Linked DNA regions of Homo sapiens: region 1 is linked to region 2. The links are contacts of gene promoters, found by promoter capture Hi-C in blood cells and fetal thymus (Javierre and others, 2016). All regions are on one chromosome and are shown on one strand. Each heading gives the region's core, a stretch centred on a gene start or on the middle of the fragment in contact. The rest is flanking DNA. Distances are from core to core; before and after follow the strand shown. Region 1 overlaps LOC124902123 (a long non-coding RNA gene). Region 2 holds the start of SNAPC3 (small nuclear RNA activating complex polypeptide 3).

What was found. The method cuts DNA at HindIII sites, captures the fragments that hold promoters and counts their contacts. A CHiCAGO score of 5 or more calls a contact.
Region 1: a fragment that was not itself captured here is called in contact with the fragment with the promoter of SNAPC3 in region 2 in 1 of 17 cell types (endothelial precursors); the score reaches 5.4 in endothelial precursors.

What each region holds. Positions count from the first base shown.
Region 1 is chr9:15,149,789-15,155,247 of GRCh38, reverse strand. LOC124902123 (a long non-coding RNA gene) reads right to left here. Exons shown (of 3, transcript XR_007061423.1): 2 at 4,811-4,961. Among named protein-coding and RNA genes, the nearest start is that of TTC39B, 150 kb to the left of the region's middle. The HindIII fragment of the contact is 985 bases long and covers 1,197-2,181 here.
Region 2 is chr9:15,421,424-15,426,502 of GRCh38, reverse strand. It overlaps SNAPC3 (small nuclear RNA activating complex polypeptide 3), which reads right to left and starts at 3,627. Exons shown (of 9, transcript NM_001039697.2): 1 at 3,310-3,627; 2 at 2,517-2,594. The coding sequence starts at 3,623. RefSeq lists an enhancer at 3,151-3,270 and a silencer at 3,611-3,900. The HindIII fragment of the contact is 2,004 bases long and covers 3,179-5,079 here.

The DNA of each region.
Region 1 (5,459 bases), core at 440-2,939, 270 kb after region 2:
TTGTTAATCTATTAGGAAATGTATATTCTGACATTTTAGCGCCATGGGGGATTCTTTTTTTTTCTCTAATTTTTGTCTGAGATTTATGCATAGCTTTTATCCAGTAGGAAGAAGGACACATTCTTCCCCTACCCTTTCTCGCCCAGGTGAGCTTCCTAAGGCCAAATCACGCAAAGTTTGACCACAAAAGGTGACTTACTGACTAGCTGTCAGAAAGATGAATGCTTCCTTTAAAAATAGCAGCATGGTGTTCCTTGTCAACAAAACTGTGGCTCTTAGAAAGGATGCCATAGGCCTTATGGTTAGGACCGTCTGGGTAGGTTCAGTTCATTTGTAGAACAAAGATTTCTGTTGCAATGCTCTTTTAGCCATCCAGCTTCATTCGTTTTAAGGGCTAGACCTTGTTCTTCAGCCATTTGGCAATCTGTGTATGGAGTACTGGATACAGTGTGGTTTAGTGCAGTGGTTCCCAGCTTTTCACATCTTAAATTCTACAAATCTTTTTTCGGGGAATGGGGAGGACGAGGTGGAGAGGCACCTGTTATTGCTGTCTAAGCAGAAAGTGAGATGGCGTGAGGGTGCGGGGAGGGACGGTATTGCAGATTGGAGCACTACCATGTACCTTTAGGATGCCCTCCTCCTCATCTTCCTAGATGAGCTCTGTGTCCCTAGACTTAGTTTACACAAACACACAAAAAATAGTAAGTGTCCATGATTTTGATTATCAAAATAATCCTTGGCTGGATAATCATTCTTGGGCGATATTGTTGGGGCGAATGAGGGGACTGAGGGAGCACAAAATCTCAATAACTGATGCTAAAACCCTGTGTCCCCCATTTGGTCATGGAGCAACAAGTCAATACCAGGTCAACAGAATCTTCTATACTTAAAATCCATTTTCGTGGCTCTTATACAAGCCACTGGGAAGCCCACACATTCAACATTTGTTCCATTTTTCCTTCCAGATTAACTTTATTTTTCCACATCCCCGATAGTGATTTTTCCATTAACATTTGATGCTCAATTTTCATTTTCCCTAACATTGGTCCCTGGAAGTCTTCCAAAATCTTAGGAAGCATAATAGATTTGATTTCATCTTGTTCCTTTCTCACCTGTTTTTTTTTTTTTTTAATAAAGCTGGTTTCTTTCTTTATTTGAGCAATCTTCTGCTCTCCAAAGGAAGACTCTTTAAAGCTTAGTCCAAAGGAAAAGACTCCTATTCCAAGGCCAGCAAATTTCTTCCTCCACGTGGCCTCTAGCAGCCAGCCAGCCACCAACTGGCCTCTTGTTACAGCCTTTTGTTGACTCTCTTATGGATGCTGCTAACAGTCTCTAGCTTTCCAGCCACTTTCAGCTCTTCTGACAGTAGCCCCTTTTTGGGAAGGACCTGGAGATGAGGCTAAGGCTGCGTTGTTCCCTATCTTTGTTGGATGTGTTGCAATAAAACAACACAGGTAATTCACATTTGAGCTGGAGATTAAACTCAGGTTGGGCTTCCAAGCTGTCACCTGGGACAGTCATTGAGGTTGTGCTTCTTTATCCTGGTTTGTGGCTTGGACGTTTGTTTAGCCTTAAAACAGGATTTCAAATGACCAAAGGAGATTCTGTTGGACTTTTCCTTGGCAAACTCAGGAAGGTATGTCGTGCTTTCAGTCTTCACTGGCTGAGAATGATAGATAGAAGGAAAGCTGGGAACCTCCTAGGCCTTTCATCCCATTCTGAAGTCTCTGGGTTCAGACCTCAGTTCGTGTGTAATGTGGACGATTGATGATTGCAATGGATGTCATTTTTGTTGTTATTCCAAGCAAATGTACACTTTTTTCTTCTCTATGGTATATTTTATTTGTTTTGTTATACCAAATTGTTCAAATAATGTTGAGTATCAATGACCGGGCACCTACTGAAATAGGAAGGGTTTTAAATGGTAGGCAATTATACAAAATTAAAAGGATGAAAATGGCAATTAATGGAAGAAACACAGATACCAAAAATGAAATATTAAGAAAAGAGTAGAAAGTCTGCCAATAGGACATTCCATTCTTTAGTTTGGGGAAAGGCCCTCATGCAACATTTTCTGTGCATTTCCAGTGGGCATAGGTGTCTAAGTTCTAAAACTTCTTTTCTAAGTAGGCCTAATTCAGAGAACCCAGCTTATTAGATATAAGTGCAAGAAAACAAGCTTTATAGCCATTTACCTCCACCCTTTGACTGAGTGGGGAAAGGGAAAAAGGAGGGAATTAAGGTCCCGGCACTCATGCTTCAAGGCCAAGAACTGCATTGTGGAGATCTGTCTGGGGAGGGTGGCTGTCACGCTGCAAACCTCAGAGGTGGGCACTGTCAGCCCCATCTGCTCAGGAGGGATAACAATGCTGCTGGTGGGACTTTGGGCAGATCATATAATAGCGTGGACCAGAGTCTGTTGTTTCCAGATGCCCCAGGGGAAGGCCAGAGAAAGGCTCCTTCTGAGTGAGGCTGACTGGGGGTAGTCAGAGCACTTATGTAGAGTGGCTAGGCTTTATTGGAGCAGACCAATACAAAAAAAGTACTAAAAAAACCAGTTTCACTAATAATTAAATGAAATTCCACTCACTGCACTTTAACCAATAAAATATCTTTGTTTTTTTTTTGTATACTAAACCCTACGTAGACTTGAACCAATTCAGAAGACAGTCTGTTGGCCAAAGGGCAAAATCCACAGCACCAGGTAGCATTTGCTTGAAGTTCCAAGGCACCACGAGAGATTGCTTTCCCCCAAGACTACCAAGGCAGTGTATATATGTGTGTGTGTTCTTGTATGCACACACAGCACACAAAGGACAAGTCTCTTTGCCTTGTGCAGAAATATTCTGATTGTTTCAAGATTGAATGAGCTTTCCCGCTTTCCCACTTTCCCACCTTGTCTTCCACCTGTGTGAAGTTCGTCCATGAGAGGGGTCTGCCCCACTGAAAATCTCCCATTTGGTTTTGGAGCTGCAGGAGCAGCAGGCTCAGGCAAGTGCTTCAATCCACTTTGCCAAGCTTTCTGCTGTACTCCAGACAACTTGGCATGCTGCAGCAGGGGCAAAACACTGACGTCCTCTTTTCCTTTTTTTTTTTTGAGATGGAGTCTTGCTCTTGTTGCCCAGGCTGGAGCAACCTCCGCCTCCTGGGTTCAAGTGATTCTCCTGCCTCAACCTCCCGAGTAGCTGGGATTACAGGTGCCCGCCACCATGCCGAGCTAATTTTTGTATCCCTAGTAAAGACGGAGTTTTGCCATGTTGGCCAGGCTGGTCTCGAACTCCTAACTTCATGATCTGCTCACCATGGCCTCCCAAAGTGCTGGGATTACAGGCGTGAGCCACTGTGCCCAACCCTCTTTTCCTTTTTCAAATGTCAATGGAAAGTTGATTGGAAAGGACAATTTGGCTACCTTTTGGTACCCTGCAGGATTACCTTTATATCAATCATTTGCTGATGCAGGGACTTTCAGAAATTTTGTGGTCTCTTGCAAACAGCCTTGGCAAAACATAGACCTTCAGTATGTGTTGAATGAACCCGTGGATTGCTGGTGTCAGAAGTCCTTTCGTGGACTTGCCTCTGCTGGGGACCTCAGGTTGTGTTGCCTTCTGGGAGGGCCACAGAGAATAGACAGAAAAGAAATCTAAAAGATTCTTATGGGTTTAACACAGGACTCGGCCTTAGCATAGAGAGGGGAAGGTTGCAAGTGGAGGCAGTTGCCTCACCAGGACAGTGGCTGGGCAGAATGGTTTCACAGAGCAAGGTGAATAGACGGAGTGGAAGATGATAGAGATTGCTGAGGACACAAACTCATGCTGCATCTCTCATGGCAGAGTGTTGGTGCTGCTATTTGAATATTAGTCAGTGTTCAACAGAAATCACTCTAGGTACTTTAAGAAGAAAAGAATTTAATACAGGAAATTAGGTGCTTACAAAATCATTAGAAGTGTTGGTCAAGTAGGTTCCAGGTGTGGCATCCATGAATGTTCTTGGGCAGGGGTGCCTGAAGTAATCCACCAGGGCAGACGTATTCAGGCAACCTGAACATCTGGCACAATAGCAGGGGTAGAGGGGGAGGCAATTCCTGCCAGGAAGATAGCAGCTTCCGGCTGGGTGACTAAGAGGCCACGGCAATCCCCTTAAGATTTGTGGGTGGTTTGGTGACTCCTGGCACCTTCCTTGGTATTGGAAATGCCCGTCCCACAACACTTTTTCTGGTAGCAGCTTTGAGGGAGAAGGGTGGGCAGGCTGGTGGGAGGAGGGTATTTGCCTGCTACTTTCTCTCCAGAAGTGTTCATGGCTACAGTCATCATGTGGGCTTTTTTGTAGGCATGTGAAGGTAGATGGGGAATTAGGGTTGCCTTTCTCTGGGACCTCCAGTTCCCTTTGGTGGTGCTGGTGAGTTCAGGACCAGCCTCTAGCACAATAAGTGTGTGGCTTGTGGGGTTAGTGATCCTGATGAGCCACTCACAGGTATTTATGGACTGACTTCTTCTAGCTGTCTCAAGTTCCTGTCTGTCTGTTAGGTCTTGGCACTGACCACAGGTCAGGAAGCCACATGGTCACATTGAGAGGGCAACTTCCTAGCTAGACCAGGGGTAGTTGCCCTCATGCAAGTCCATGTCAGTGCCTGCTTTAAAGTCTCCCATGGCTTTCAATTTGCATAAGGCAAAAGTCTAAGCTCATCATGTGGCCTCTATGTCTCTATTTGATCTGGGCCTGCCTAAGTCCAACTTCAACTTCTTCTACTCTTCCTTGATCACTTTGTCCCAGCCACACTCACCTTCTCCCTATTCCTGCCAACTGGGCTCACCTCATAGCCTTTGCACTCATCCTTTGCTGTGCCTGGAGTTGACTTCCCTCAAGTCTTTGCTTGGTTCACTTCTTCTCATCAGTTGAGTCCAGCTGTCACCCCCTCAGAGGCTAGATTATCTAGTTATTCTTTAACAAAAAATGGGTGAGTCCTGTATGAGGAAAGTCACAAAATTTAGTGGGAGGTATAGTAGAAGACTTGAATAAAAGAAGAGAGACCATATCTGTGGATAGAAAGATAAAATATTGCAAATATATCAGTTTTTCCCAAATCAATTTCCCATCTCCAGTCAAAATACCAGTGGTATGACAAATAGATTCTAAAGCTGAGAGGGAAGAATAAGCAGCAATAAGAGAATTTAAGAAAGGAAAGTTAGGGGTGTCTTGCCCTATGAGCGCATAAAACATACATCTACTAAAACTGGAAAGGTCTTGTATTTGCAAAAGAAGTGACAGGACAGCAGAACAGATGGGAAAGCCCTGAAACAAGGAATTTAATGTATGATAAAGAAAGAATCATCAATCACTGGGAAAGGCATTATTAAACAAAAAGTATTGGAGTTTCACTCCTAGGTAGATACCCAAGAGAGTTAAAGATGTACATCCACACAGAAACTTGTACATGAATGTTTAAATGTCCATCAACTGAT
Region 2 (5,079 bases), core at 2,378-4,877:
CAGTTCTAGGAATTGGTAATATAGCAGTGAGTGTGGCAGATGTAACTTAAGGAACTTTCAAGTGTAGCTAAGAAGACAGAAAATTAAACACGTATATTACAGATGTGATGAGCATTTCAATAGGGAAGCATAGGGTGCTACATGAGCATACAAGATGACCTAAATGGAGTCCGTAGTCCTTTAGCTAAGACTTGCAGGATGAGTAGAAGTCAACAAGGTCAGGAGATAAGCAAGAATGACTGTTCTGGGCAAAGGCCTGGAGTGAGAGAGCATATTCGAGGAACTGAAACACAGTGCAGTGTGGCTGGAACACTGCAGAGAGAAAGCTTAAAAAAAATCAGCAAGGTCGGGCCAGGTGCGGTGGCTCATATCTGTAATCCCAACACTTTGGGAGGCCGAGGTGGGTGGATCACGAGAGGTTGGCCAACATGGAGCCTGACCAACATGGAGAAACTCCGTCCCTACTAAAAATACAAAATTAAGCGTGGTGGCACATGCCTGTAATCCCAGCTACTTGGGAGGCTGAGGCAGGAGAATCACTTGAACCTAGGAGGCGGAGGTTGCCGTGAGCCGGGATCGCACCATTGCACTCAGGCCTGGGCAACAAGAGTGAAATTCCATCTCAAAAACAAAACAAAATGAAAACAGCAAGGTCCACTCCTTAGAGGCCTTTGTGAGCCACTACAGACTCAGGACTTCAGCCTAAGGGACATCAAAAGGTTTTAGGCAAGGGAGTGACAATCAGATGTGCATTTTAGACAAATACAACTAATCAATCAACAATAGTTACAGAGCACCAATTGGAGCAAGGCAGTATAGTAGGCTTGAGAACAATACACAGATGGGAGTTTGGACTCTCATTGAGCCTTCAAGGACTTTAGAAATGTTAAGAGTTTAAGGCAGTATAAATGCATCTGTTTCCTAAGGGAAAGATGGGTTGTGGTAATCTGGAAAGGAATCTTTGGGCTTTTAAAAAAGTGGTATGGGCAAGGTGTGGCGGCTCACGCATGTAATCCTAGCACTTTGGGAGAACGAGTTGGGCAGATCACATGAGGTCAGGAGTTGAAACCAGCCTGGCCAACATGGTGAAACCCGTCTCTACAAAAAATGCAAAAAAGTTAGGCAGCCGAGGGTGCAGGCACCGGTAATCCCAGCTACTCCGGAGGCTGAGGCAGGAGAATCGCTTGAACCCGGAGGCAGAAGTTGCAGTGAGCAGAGATCACGCCACTGCACTCCAGCCTGGGCAACAGAGTGAGACTGCATCTCAAAAAAATAACGTAACATAACATAACATAGAAGTGGTATGTTTCAGATGGGAGAGAGGCCACATGCATCCTGAGCCATCTGAAAGAGAAAGTGGTTGAAAATAAATCTGGAAAGGCAAATTTGGGATATATGTGGAAGGCTTCAAATGTCTAGCTAAGGAGTTTGAAATTTTTCCATATAGGAGATGTAGGGCCATAGACCATTTTTAAGCAAAATGGCTTGCTCAGGCGACAGCATGATGGATAAATCAGTGGGAGAAATGACTGTACTTATCAAAGACACTTAAGAACCTTGCACAGTGCTCCAGGTGTTGCTGCTGTAAAAGTCAGCAGTAGGGACCAGGGGAACAGATTTAGCAGTTATTATGAAAGAAAACCCAAGTAGAGTTGAAATGACTGCCTGAATATTTGAGGGGGATAATAGCGTAGGATCAAGAACGACAGAACATAGCTGAGGTAGTATGAAATAAGTGGACTATAAATTGGAAATTATAAATTTCACTATTACATGCACAATTTCTCTATATTATCATACAACAGTGCCTCTCAAAGAGTGGTAGGCAGACCAGAATTCATCTATGACCTATTTGTTAACCAATCTGTACAGAAAATGACAGTAAGCATTTAGAAACTTCCATTATCATTGAATAATTTTGTCTATTGAATTTAATTAAAAATTTGAACTTATATTGTGTTTGTCTTTTTTAATTCCATTTTTCTAGTAATTCTTTTTATAGTATTTTATCAAAGCATAAATCTGTCAAAGATTAAAAATTTTTAAAAACAAGAACTGTCCTTTACCACAAATAGTTTGAAAAACACTGTCAGAGTATTTAGGTTGCCCCCCAGATCTAAGTAGATTACCTCTATAAACAAACATTCAAAAATATTAAAAAATAAACACAAGTTTGAATATGGACTGAATATTATAGATTATGTATTTACGGTTTTCTTAGGTATAATAATACCACAATAATTATGTAGGAGAATGATACTTTTAGAAGCTATATGCTTATGTATTTACGGGTAAATTATCATGTCTAACTTACTGAATGGGGGATAGCAAAATGAAAAAACACACAGCAGGCATCCCATACACACGGCTAAAGTAAATATGGTCAAATATTAAGAACAGCTGAATTTAAGGGGTGGGTATACAGACAACAATCAATACTGCACTTTCAACTTTTCAAAACATAATGTTGAAAAAATGTTTAAATAAATAGGTCATAAAAACCAAGTCCTCCATACCCCAAAGTCACCAGGTCAGTATTCTCCGGAATGACTTCTGGATCCTCACCGTCCTCAAGGCATTTCAGTTTATCAAGGCTAAAACAAAAAGGAAAAGCAATACTTTAAGGTCGACTCTGCATCTGGTTCACAGCGAGTTAGGGTTGTTTTCCTAAATACATTACTGAATTACGAAGTCAGATAAAATCCAGCAGGCGGCTCAGAGAGGCCAGAACTTAAGACAACGATTTCTGTGATTATATTTTATAATGAAAAGGCCGATGAAGGCAGCCAGTACTGTTAAATGGAGAAAGAGATTAAAGTTATTTTTATATTTTCATCCCCAAATAAGGCACTTTTAAGAAATATTTCAGTAACAGAATACCCGGAAGGTCCCCAAAAGAAACCAGTTAGTCGGGGTTTTAACACTCCTCTGATGAAGTCTCCCGCAGCTTCACCATTACTCAGGTTCCTCCATTGTCAAAGTGTCTGTCAATGGCAGGTACACGTCGCTGTTGCCCTGATTGCTTTTCTTTATTAACAAGCACTCTTAGAATAAGCAAATGGAAAAACTAGTCTTTGATGCAGCTGTCTTGTCCCTTTGCTCCAACTCGTAGAAACTGTGCATTCGGGTCCCAGGACTTCTCCTGGTGTCCCAGGAAGGCTCCAGCGGGTTGAAAGCTTTAAAGGGTAATACTCCTAGCCCAGGTCTAAACCACAGGCCCTTCTCAGGGATGAGTCCCAGAGGAGCGCACGAGCAAGGCTGCACCCTGTTTGACCCCAAGCTGCAAGAGCCCCTTTGCTCCGCACTCACCCGCACACCGCCCTCAGCTCAGCCGCCGCCTCCAGGCTGCAGTCCAGATCCCTGGCCACCGCGGCATCCTCCCGGTCGGAGTCAGCTGCCTGGCTCCCAGGCAGAGCGGATGCCGGCGGCTCCCTCAGCGACAAGTCCCCGGCCCCGCGCAGACGGCCCCGCCACAGCTCCCCAAAGGCGCCCACATGGAAAGCGCGCGTATTTAGCTCGGGAAGCTCATACTCTGGAAAGTTGCAGCCGCCACTGCCGGAGACTGGGTCCTGCCTGCCACCCACCCCGCTACACGTAGGGCCACCTCGGCTTCCTTCAGCCATGTTCGCCCCACTCCTTCCCCTGCAAAAGCCTGCAGATCAAGGCCTCGCAGAGCGTGATGGAAGTTGTAGTTGCTTGGGGCGCCCGGCCGGCGAGCGGCGAGGCGGCGCGGGCAGGGCATCAGAAACTACATTTCCCGGCAGGCCATGGGCAGGCCCGCCCCAGGGCGCGGCACCGCGAGGCTCTACGTGCAGGGCGCAGCATTGTTCTCCGACCCGGGCGGTGCGGGAACCGTTGCGGCTGTCGGTTAACCGCAGCGGGTGGGGCTGGGTTTCTGGTCCCCGAGTTACGTAGCAACTGTCTCTGCCCGGTAGGGCGGCCTCGCCAGGCGCTTAGGCCCCGTTCCTTGCGGCTTTCGGACTAAGGGGTGCAGGGCTTTTTCTTGACTGGGGTTCAAGGACTGCTCTGCTGCCTGATTGCTTTAGAGCCTAAGAAACAAGGAGGGCGAGGGCCGAGACCAGGGACACGACCAGCCCTCCAGATCTGGTTCTTTCACAAGCTCCGCAGAGGCCCCATGTTGGTGTGCGTGTGCAGTAGTGTTTCAGAGCGTCTGTGTATCACACGCTACATGATTAACCCTAATGTATGTTTTTAATGTTTTTAAAAATTACAACAACCTTTCCGGATAGGGCGTATCACCCCGTGTTGCTGTTGAGGAAGGATTTACCTGCGGGGAAAATAGAAGCAGGATCGGAACTCAGTCTGGCTTCAGATGGAGCTCTCTCCATTTCTCAGAGGCCCTGAAGGATACAGCAGGACATACTATTTATTTATTAGACTGTAATCACATGCCATATAATTCACCCATTTGAAGTGTTCAGTGATTTTTGGTATATTCACAGGCTTGGGCAACCATCACCACTATTTGAGAGCATTTTTACCACTCGAAAGAAGAAACTTGTACTTTTTAGCTATCACCCCTGATCCTCCCAACTCCTCCAGCCCTAGCCAACCAAGAACCTACTTTGTCTCTCTAGATTTAACTAATCTGGACATTTAATATAAACGGAATTATATGGTCTTTTGGTGGCTGGCTTAATGTTTACAAGGTTTGTTACAGGTAGTTAGGCATGAGCAGGGCAGGAGAGGGCTCTTCCCTCACCCACTAGGAATGTGGGGTGATGCTTAGGCATTTATCACATTGCCTCTAAAAGTGATAAATTGGCAGCCGGTGCCAGGGAGAGGCCATTTCCTGATGGCCCACACCTGTTGCACTAAAGTGCTCGTTGAATGCAGGTGACAGGGAGAAGCAACTTCCTGGGCATATGCATTAAGAGACAAAATCGGGGAGTATGACCTTTCAGGGGGACTCTATCGGAAAAGGGAAGAAAGCCTCAGATGGGCACGCATACAACTTCATACATATTGCGCTGTGCTCACTTCCCAAGGGTAAGGAGGGCACTGCGCATGGAGGCAGCCCACCCTAAGGGAAGAATCATGGGAAAGGAGCCAGCCTGT